2 separate regions of the Homo sapiens genome follow, and region 2 is linked to region 1. The links are contacts of gene promoters, found by promoter capture Hi-C in blood cells and fetal thymus (Javierre and others, 2016). All regions are on one chromosome and are shown on one strand. The core of a region is centred on a gene start or on the middle of the fragment in contact, and the rest is flanking DNA. Distances in the headings are between cores, read along the strand shown. Region 1 holds the start of MRPL3 (mitochondrial ribosomal protein L3). Region 2 overlaps UBA5 (ubiquitin like modifier activating enzyme 5).

The links. Contacts are between HindIII fragments. The CHiCAGO score rates a contact against its expected background, and 5 or more counts as called.
Region 2: a fragment that was not itself captured here is called in contact with the fragment with the promoter of MRPL3 in region 1 in 1 of 17 cell types (total CD8 T cells); the score reaches 5.1 in total CD8 T cells.

Annotation. Positions count from the first base shown.
Region 1 is chr3:131,501,721-131,506,906 of GRCh38, forward strand. It overlaps MRPL3 (mitochondrial ribosomal protein L3), which reads right to left and starts at 1,251. Exons shown (of 10, transcript NM_007208.4): 1 at 1,010-1,251. The coding sequence starts at 1,101. It overlaps LOC105374114 (a long non-coding RNA gene), which reads left to right and starts at 879. Exons shown (of 3, transcript NR_189111.1): 1 at 879-984. RefSeq lists enhancers at 887-1,573, 1,080-1,149. The HindIII fragment of the contact is 1,488 bases long and covers 551-2,038 here.
Region 2 is chr3:132,672,381-132,677,566 of GRCh38, forward strand. It overlaps UBA5 (ubiquitin like modifier activating enzyme 5), which reads left to right. Exons shown (of 12, transcript NM_024818.6): 9 at 2,868-3,003; 10 at 3,225-3,300; 11 at 3,437-3,543; 12 at 4,063-5,186. The coding sequence ends at 4,146. All of the region lies in intron 26 of NPHP3-ACAD11 (NPHP3-ACAD11 readthrough (NMD candidate)), which reads right to left. Among named protein-coding and RNA genes, the nearest start is that of UBA5, 15 kb to the left of the region's middle. The HindIII fragment of the contact is 1,347 bases long and covers 578-1,924 here.

The DNA of each region.
Region 1 (5,186 bases), core at 1-2,500:
AAAAGAAAAAATAAATAAAACCAAACCACAATTTAAAAACTTCCTCCACTTAATATAGAAAAGGGAAGTCACAAATTGGAAAGTGTAGTCAGGGCCTTGGGAAAGGGCTTGGATTCTGTATACCTTTTTTTCAGGTCTCCAACCTTTTCCTCACTCCCCACATTCCTTCGGATAAGGCTCACATTTAAACTGTTAGTCGTTACCCTGGAGAAAAAAATTCATCTTCTCCTCGCAGATAAACATATTCCCCAAAAAACAGTCCTACCTATAGACATGAAAAGCCACTAACCCATTTGGAAGTGTACCTTAATAGTTTTACATTCAGTGGAGGTGGCAGAAGGTGGCATGTTGATCTTTGTCTAACAAGCTCACCTCCTCCCTGCAATGACATGGCCTAGGTTCAGAGAAGTGAAGAAACTGGGTGTGCAAAGTTAAAAGATCCACAAAAGGCATGACCTCTGAACAGGTGAACATACCAAGAAAGACCTTAGTGGGCGGAGGTCAGGAAGAAGGGGTGTAATTCTTGCATGGAGGGTCAGAACAGAAGTAAAGCTTTCTGCAGTCTACTCTCCTTTTGTAGTCAGATAAATTCAGGCTAGATTCCTAATTTTCCACTTATTAGTTGAGTGACTTTGGGCAAATTAACTCACCTCCCTAACCTTCAGTTTTATCTGTAAACCTTATGATAGCAGTTTGCTCCCGTGAGGCTACATAAGGCACCTAATACACTTAGCAGAGCGCTTAGTACCTGGCAAACGCTCACTAATTGTAAGATATGATTGCTGTTAATAGCGTTCGCTGCTAGTGGCTGGCTCATAAGCGTTTTTTAAAAATCACCACTTCAATCCCCTTAGAACGTGCTTCCTTAGGTTAACGGCCCTTATTCTTCTGTGTCCCACGTCTCAACAGAGCCCCTTCCTCCTCCACCCAGGGGAGGCCCAACTGCACCAGGCCATTCCACTGCTTCAGGACGCAACTGTGCAGGTAGGACACCCTCACACCTTCCTACCTGTTCCCCGGGCCCAGGGCAGCACCCAGGCCGTCCCCGAGTCGACCCAGCACCTGGGCGCCGACCTGCGTCAGCAGCCTCCAACCCGGCATGGATTAGCCCGGGAAGACTCGACTCACGACTTCCGGGCGCCCTGCCGCTCTGCTTTCAGGGAGTCCCCACGCCACCGCCACGTGGACGCAGTAGCCGTGGGGAAGTTTTCGCAATGGCCGCCGGAACGGTCGCCGGCCGATGCTCTCTGCGACGGAAAGAAAGCCGCCGGACCCACTTCCGGTGCGTTTTACAATGAACTCCGGGCACTCGAGTCGCTCCCCGGAAACTATAGTTCTGCTTCCACCGTTGTCCTACTTTGGATGTGAGTTGGAGTAGGTAGGGGTGGGAAGGGACTGACTCGCCTCTCCAGGGGTAAAATAAAAGGGATGTTCAGAGTTTAAACTTTAGAAGAATAAGGACAGACTTCCTGAGGACGCTAAGGAAAATGAAGACACTTCTAAATAGTGCCCGTTGTGAGGCAATGCATTATGCTAAGCAGCGCTTCATAATCCTATATTTGTTAATCATAAAAAACGGTCCTGAAAGGAAGTATTTATTTTTCTATTATAAATGAGGAAACTGACTCAGAATTTAGGTGCTGGTCCAAAACAACACATCTGGCAGAGGAGCAGAGTTGGCACTGAAACAGGGTTGGCATGTGTTATCAATAGACTACACCCATAGAAATGATGTATGCCTTCTAGGGCTGGATCATAAAACATATTGTTACTTCAGTTTTTGTCTCTTGGATTGCTCCCTGTGGAGAAAGCTAGCCTTCATTTCCTGCAGACACTCAAACAGCTCTGCAGGGAGGAACATATAAAGAGGAATCAACTAGCCAGTCATGACTGAGCCACCTAGGAAGTGGATCCACCAGTCCTCGGCTGCAACTCATGGAGACGTTAAGCCTGAATCTCCCAGCCAGGCCGCTCATGAATTACTGACTAGGAGAAATTGCCAGAGAAAATAAATGATTACCGTTTTTTTGAGTCATTAAGCTTTAGGGTAATTTGTTATGCAATAATAGATAGCTAATACACCTGCACAAAAAATCCCCTGTCTTGGGTTCCAGATCTAGCCTAATAACCATGTATGTGACTAGGACATTTATTCTTCTACTAATTCCCTTATTTGTCAGATTACTGTTTGTAGAAATTTGGAAATAAGAACTTTAAAGTGTAGCTATTTCAACCTTCTCTTTTTACTAGAGATCTGGCTATCTTGGTTTAACAGGTCCAGACAATGGTCAATTCCTGGCCATTACTTGGACTTTAGTGGGCTAAAAAATCTTTGCTTTGCTTGTCCATTCATTCCACTCATTGCTGTTGCAGTTACCTTAGACACTTTTCAATAATACTTTGGACCTTGAAGGAAAAACTACATCTCTTCATTCTAGCCATGCTGCCTGGCTTCCCAGATACTTAAGGATGGCTCTTCATTGAACAAACATGTTTTGAGGTGTGCTACATGCAAGAAGTTGAGAATAAGAAGATTTCTGTACTACTGCCAATAACTAACATTTCTTATCCATATAGTGTGCTAGAGTATGTGCTCAGCATTGTGGAAGCCCATAAGCCAAGGCTACTAGAAGAAAACGTGAACTCATACAAAGTCAAGTTTAATTAGCTTGATGCAGCAAAAGACAGCATATGTCTGAGGATGTTTCCAAAAGAGTGACCTGGGAGGGGCTTGAAATGAAATTTGGACTTAAGGCTGAGTGATTTTAAAGTGGCATCAGAGAAGCAGGAACTTGTTTTAGAATGGGTGCTGTCAAGAAGAAAGGACAGTTCAGCAATTGGATATCTTGATAGTCTTTGTTCTAGAGACAGGAAGAACAGAGAGGAAGTGGGCATGATGTTCATAAGAAAGCAGGAATCACTCAGAATAAGGAACTGTTAGTCATTTTGCTGCAGTGGTGTGGCCTACAGTACGGTCTGTAAGAAATATTGTAATGATGGGCTGGGCGTGGTGGCTCAGCACTTTGGGATGCCAAGGCGGGTGGATCACGAGGTCAGGAGATTGAGACCATCCTGGCTGACATGGTGAAACCCCTTCTCTACTAAAAATACAAAAAAAAATTAGCCGGGCGTAGTGGCGGGTGCCTGTAGTCCCAGCTACTCAGGAGGCTGAGGCAGGAGAATGGTGTGAACCTGGGAGGCGCAGCTTGCAGTGAGCGAGATTGAGCCACTGCACTCCAGCCTGGGTGACAGAGCAAGACTCCGTCTCAAAAAAAAAAAAAAGAAATATTGTATTGATGTTCTGCTATAAACACTGCAGTCCAGTTACTAATAGTATTCATTTTTACTCTCTCAGTGTATTTTCTCACTTGATTGTTATGACAATCTGCTGTGACAATAGTATAATTATCTGGATCTTACAGTTAAGAAAATAGGCATACAGAGATTACATAACTTAAATAAAATCACCCAGCTATTAACTGGTAGAGCCAAAGACTGTGACCATAGATAGAGCTTATGCTTTTAGACATTTTGTTTCTTTGGCTCTCTATGACAAATATGTCACTACTCTTGCCTTGGAATTTCTTTAAGGCTAAAGAGGAAAATCGGTAAGTAATCACACGCAGTGGTCAGTGAGGATTGAAGAGGTAGCCATTTGGTCTAACCTTTTCCCATAGTACCAAATATCTCCTAGTCCATAAGGAGGACCTTGACAGCAGGCACCACCGCTGAACTGAATCAAAGTAAAACATGGTTTGTCTGCTGTCGTAAAAAATGTGTCTCCTGATTGCCAGCCAGGGCTGAGTGGTGTCATACTTGATTTAGTCACTGTAATATGCTGCTGACAGCTACTAGGCCCAGTTGTCAAGGGACCCAGCCTAGGCTTTTCTAGGGCAGTCAGGCACTGACCTAGAGCTTCCTGTTATTTCTGATGTCATCCTTCAGACACTGCCTTAGACCCTGAAACTGTAATGCCATTTTGCCTCTCTAAGATTTCAATTCCTTATTGGAACGAAGATAACTTGCACTTTCTCTTTTTAGTGGTACAGTTCTATAACTCTTACTCCGCTAATTCAGACCAACAGATGATCTCATAAACCTTCTCTTATTAAATAAAACATTAGGAATAGATTCATTTTTGAATTACTAAAGCCATGTTCAATACAAGAGAATCATCATAGAAGGAGCAGATTTCAAAGCAAGAGTTCACTGGAAATAATCTTTTATATGTGTTCCTGCCATTAGGCTCTACCATTAGCTCTTATAATGTTTGTGATATATCCTGTATAGTTGGATTATTGCAAGATGGTAAATTTTGTGTTGGGTAATTTCCACTTTAGTATTCATTTATGCTGTCTCTTAGTTTATAACATACCTTATATTTGAAATTAGAAATCTTTTAAACAATGAGTTTGGATTTACTAAGTTATCCTTTTTTTTCTCCATTTTTCTCAAGTTGTGAGAATCTAGCATATTTTAAAATCAGTAAAGATGTTATGAAAGTGAGTCAAGCATTCAATGGGGATATAGATAAAATAAACTTTAAGAGATTTTTGAACTTTAAGATTTCATTGCTGGCTGAAATAGAAAATTTGAAAGGCTGTATTGCAAAATCCACAGATACTCATTCAGTAAGAGAATGAATTCTGCTTCAATGTCCTTCAGTAAGGCCAAATCACAATTTGTAACTTTAATATATTGCTTTTAAAACATAATTTTTATTTGTAAATTCCCAAGTAAGCCCACAGACTTTAGGGTTCCAAGAGATGATCAGAATTAAAATTCATTTGGCTTGAAGAAAGCCTTAAAAAAATAGAAAAAAGCAGTATGGCCATGTAGTAATCTGGGTTTAAGGTTTCAAAACTTAATGTAATTATACCAATGTCCATTTTTTAAAGTTCTTTGATTACTTAGAAAAAATATTAGCAACAGACAATGTAGCATCACATGCCAGGGAACCAATGCTTTTCAAAAGGACATCTCTTCCTCCCTGGTCTTCCTCCCAATGCCAGTGTAGTTTTGATGGCCAGAGTATAGCTCCAAACCAGTGGATACTCTAGCCACCTAGAATCATAATCAGGATTACCCCTCTGAGCCTTACAGATACAGAATCTGGAGAAATTCTAAAGACTGAGTTCATTTAGGATTTTGATTCCACTTAGAGGAGGCCTAGGGATTCCCTGAAA
Region 2 (5,186 bases), core at 1-2,500, 1.2 Mb after region 1:
TATATTAAATATTACATATAATACATGTGTGCATATTCATACGTGAATATATGTGAATGTCAGTTACTCCCTGCATTTGGAATAGCTTTTATTAAATGATACAATGGTAGTGGCATATTTATTTATGAAACATTAACTGAATGATTTAAATCTTTGCAAGTCTGTCCAGTGGATGGAGACTTAAACACACTTGTTTCTACTATCTTGATTTAAGTCTTACCAAAAATAAACCAATGTGACTAAACAGTAATTATTGTTAATGTAATTAAACATTAGTGTTACTGTAAATTTTACATTTACATAAAATGTTAACATTTATATTAGTGTTAATATAAAACACATTAACAGTACTTAAAAAAGATTCTTGAAATCTGCTTTTAGATACCTCTGCTATCCAAAAACAAATATCCAGCAACTGTACTATCTAAACTGTAGCTAAAAAGAAGGAAAAAGATTTCTTTGCTGCTGAAATTTATGTCACAGTTTATGAATCAACTCATACTTTATTAAAAGCAGAGCCCCTTTAGGTGTTCTCTAATTCAGGCTATTTATTTTCCCTCATTTTACAACTTTAATAAGCTTAGTTGTATTCCCTAAGCCTCCAATATAATAAGAACAAACTGCAACAAGACACAAGGAGGTACCAATCAATAAGAAGTGTCAGTTGCGAGCAAAGAAATTGAAAAAAGCATACATATAAACTCTCAAAGTAATGGTCTAGGGCTATTTCATATAAGAGCAAATAGCCTGTTTAGACAGTAGTAGGCCCTGTCTAAACAAAACATTTTATAGTATGATACAAAAAAGGAGAAAAGAATCATGGCTAACAAAGTATTCCCTTAAGGATGTGTCCTATTTAGCTAGCCCCTCTATTGATGGTCATTTAGGCTACTTAATTCTTTTCTTTTTTATTAACAATGCTATAGGCTACATCTTGTATATATCTTTGAATACTAGATTGATCACTCTTCTTTTTGTTTTTTTGGAGACAAGGTCTCACTGTGTTGCCCAAGCTGAAGTTCAGTGGCTCAGTCATGGCTCACTGCAGCCTCAACCTCCTGAGCTCAAGTGATCCTCCCACCTCAGCCTTCCAAGTAGTTGGAAGTACGAGTGTATGCCACAATGCCTGGCTAATTTTTGTATTTTTTGTAGAGACAAGGTTTCACCATGTTGCTCAGGCTGTTCTTGAACTCCTGAGCTCAAGTAATCTGCCCACCTCAGCCTCCCAAAGTGTTGGGATTACAGGCGTGAGCCACTGTGCCCAGCCTAGAGTTTTCTATAGTACTTTTTTTTTTTTTTTTAAACAGGGTTTCACTCTGTCACCCAGGCTGGAGTGCAGAGGCACAAAGGCACAATCTCGGCTAACTGCAGTCTTCCAGGTTCAAGTGATCCTCCTACCTCAGCCTCCCAGGTAGCTGTGACTACAAGCACCCACCACCACGCCCAGCTAATGTTTTTGTATTTTTTGTAGAAACAAAGTCTCCTTGTTTTCCAGGCTGGTCTTGAACTCCTGGGCTCGAGCAGTCTGCCCATATCGACCTTCTAAAGTGCTAGGAGTTACAGGCATGAGCCACTGCACACGGCCTATAGTACACATTTTTTAAAGTAGAATTTCTGAATTTACGAAATATTTACTAAATTTCTCCTGCAAAAGGATTATACATTTGTATCATAGTTTAGGAGTACCTGGTTCACCCATACCTTTGATAACTTTGAGTATCATCAAACTCTGTAATCTGTCATTCTGGTGGGTAAAAAACAGGCATTTAATTTTTCTTTTTATTTGTGAAAAAGGTTGAACACTTACATTCTTCTGTGAATTATCTGCTAATAGTTGTTGCTCTTTTTTGTCTTGTATATTAAGAATGTGTATTTGCAAATATTTTTGTCATTTATCTTTTTTATGTGATTTTCTCTGTATAGAAGCTTTTATTATGTTAGTGCAAAGGTAATTGTGGATTTTGCCATTACTTTTAACAAAAACTGCAATTACTTTTGCGCCAACCTAATAAAAGACATCAGATTGGCCGGGTGCAGTGGCTCACGCCTGTAATCCCAACAATTTGGGAGGCCAAGGCAGGCGGATTGCTTGAGCCCAGGAATTTGAGACCAGCTTGGGCAACATGGCAAAGCCCCATCTTTACAAAAAAAAAATACAAAAATTAGCCAAGCGTGGTGGTGCTTGCCTGTAGTCGCAGCTACTTGGGAGGCTGAGATGGGATTGCTTGAGCCTGGGAGGGCGAGGCTACAGTGAGCCATGATCACGCCACCTTACTCCAGCCTGGGCAACAGAGTAAAAAGTATCAGATTTGACTGGGAAGAGGGCAGGAGGGAGCTGGAGGCACATGGGATGCTGAAAATGTTCTGTATCTTGATCTGGTGATGGTTACATGAAAGGCTCATACAAAATTTTATTGAGCTATACATTTAAGATTGTGCATTTTATAGTAAGTTACATACAAAATGTTAAAATTAAGTAGCTTTCTTAATTATCTCAGGGATTTAAAAAATACACTTCTCCCACATTTTAGCTTCTCTGAAATCAGCATGCTTCTTGAAGTTGTTGACGTGTAATTGTTTAGCTGCCAGCATTTTATCTTTATTAGAGGTTCAAAAAAATAGTGTGTTCTACAGTTGATGAAATGGAGTAATCTTTTCTTTCCTTCATTCAATAAACACTGAAGTATCTACTATGAGCCAGGCACTGTAAATAAGATAAAATTTCTGTTTTCTGGATGCAGATTTCTGTTTTCTGGTTAAAAAAAATATATAATTACCTATTTCAACGTTATTTTTAAAAAATTTAGGTGTTCTAGTATTTTTCATGTTTTAAATTTCTTTATTTAAGTCTATTTTGATTTTTCTAGGTTTCTGTTAAATTTTGGTACTGTTAGTTTTTACCTTGGATACAATGCAATGCAGGATTTTTTTCCTACTATGTCCATGAAGCCAAATCCTCAGTGTGATGACAGAAATTGCAGGAAGCAGCAGGAGGAATATAAGGTATATGACAATCTGTTAGAATGCATGAGGGATCATATTGAATAGGACAATACATAAACAGATTTGGAATACAAGATAAATGGTTAATTTATTCACCATACTTCAAAAATGAATGTTCTTTCTTGCTTTTGGTAAGATAAAAAGCCTGTCTGAATTCTTGATTAATGCTTTAGAGAACTGAGAATGAGTAAGAACACTTTGATGCTGTTTGATTTCTACAGAAAAAGGTAGCAGCACTGCCTAAACAAGAGGTTATACAAGAAGAGGAAGAGATAATCCATGAAGATAATGAATGGGGTAGGTATTCTTTTATAAATTGAAATGGCAGTATAAAACAAAACCTTTTATGGTAGCAAATCTAATAAGATTATACAAATTGAATAATTATTGCTTATTAAATTCCTTAAAAACTGACATAGGATCAAATTTACAGGTATTGAGCTGGTATCTGAGGTTTCAGAAGAGGAACTGAAAAATTTTTCAGGTCCAGTTCCAGACTTACCTGAAGGAATTACAGTGGCATACACAATTCCAAAAAAGGTACTTCAAAAATATGATTTACCCATATGTAAATATCATATAAAATATTTATCATCTTCATTCTAATTTGTAATGCCAATGAAGTATTTCCTGTTTTAGATATTTTATGCTATAGGCATTAAGATGTGAGAGAGAGGTATGCAGTGTTAATATGCAAATATTTATAGCTTAAACTTTTAAAACATAGAATAAAATGGTTTTGTTCACTCATTAATGAACCAAGTATAGTAGATTTTGATTAAATGAAGATCTCATTTTTGTTTATCGGTAGTTTTAGCTACGATGTCGTTTAAAAAGCTAGAGCTGTCAAGAATATTGAAATTACTGCCTTGTAAATCAAAAGACTGGTGAGGAATGTAAAAGACTCTGTCTTTCTTCTAAAAATTAGAAGATAGTTGTTAAAGAAAATTTACTTTATAACCTTGTTGAGCATGGTCAAAACTTGCTGATTATATATTCCTAAGCATCAAGAATTCTATATGGTTCTTTTTTCACTGTATTTCCCTTATTTGTCAATAGCAAGAAGATTCTGTCACTGAGTTAACAGTGGAAGATTCTGGTGAAAGCTTGGAAGACCTCATGGCCAAAATGAAGAATATGTAGATAATGGACTGGGATATATTGTATTTCTCATGTTAAAGCCTCTTCCCTTGAAATTAAAAAAAAATTTTAACTGATAAAACTTAGGGCAACATTAATTAATGTATATTCTTACCTGAATTGTTATACTTTTTGAAAATCCTGTGACTTGCCTGTTTCTCCCCGCTCCAACGAAATCATTAACTCTCCTAAAATGTGTTTCATTCTAGTAAGAAAACCTCAAAGGATATTGTAGGATATAAATCTTACTTGAAAACATAGCTGTTGAAATGTTTTGGCCTTTTGGAGTGGGGGAAGGACAAATCTGATCCTGTAATCTTTTTCTTTCCAGTAATCCCTTGTGTCTGTTGCATGAGGACATGGACAATAAAGTAGTATATGATCCTCAGATACAGGGAGAAGGACAAGGCATACAGCTTATTGATTAGAGCTGGCAAGCATCTGCTCATTATGTTTGGAATTGCTTTCTATAAGAAAATTGCCCACTACTACTAACTTGATCAACAATGAATTCAAAATAGTTAACCTATGAAATAACATCCTCTCAAATGTTTGCTGATGAAGTACAAGTTGAAATGTAGTTATTGGAAAAGTCTGTAACCTGTGGATCATATATATTCAAAGTGAGACAAAGGCAAATAAAAAGCAGCTATTTTCATGAATAGACAAAGTTGATTTCAGGAAGTATAAATTATATTCTGCACCGAACAAGGAACAGAAATTATTGCATCTGTGGAACATATATCTGGAGTTACTATACTTTACTGAAGAGCAAGGCATAAATTTAGACTAAAATCCATCCAGATTACACTCATTCTTTAGGCTACTCCTGGATACTTCATTTAAATTTGATTTTCGAGGTAGTGAGATGTCGGCAAGGTTTGTCCTGTATATTAGGAATAAAGGAAAAGTTCTAAACTGCCTCTGCAATGACTTGTAGTCAGTGGAAGAGTATCACTTTCCCCTGATCATGACCACTAAACTGTAAATTGATATAAATTAGTTTTCTCTCGAGTTACACCCAAGTAATGAAGACTTAAGAG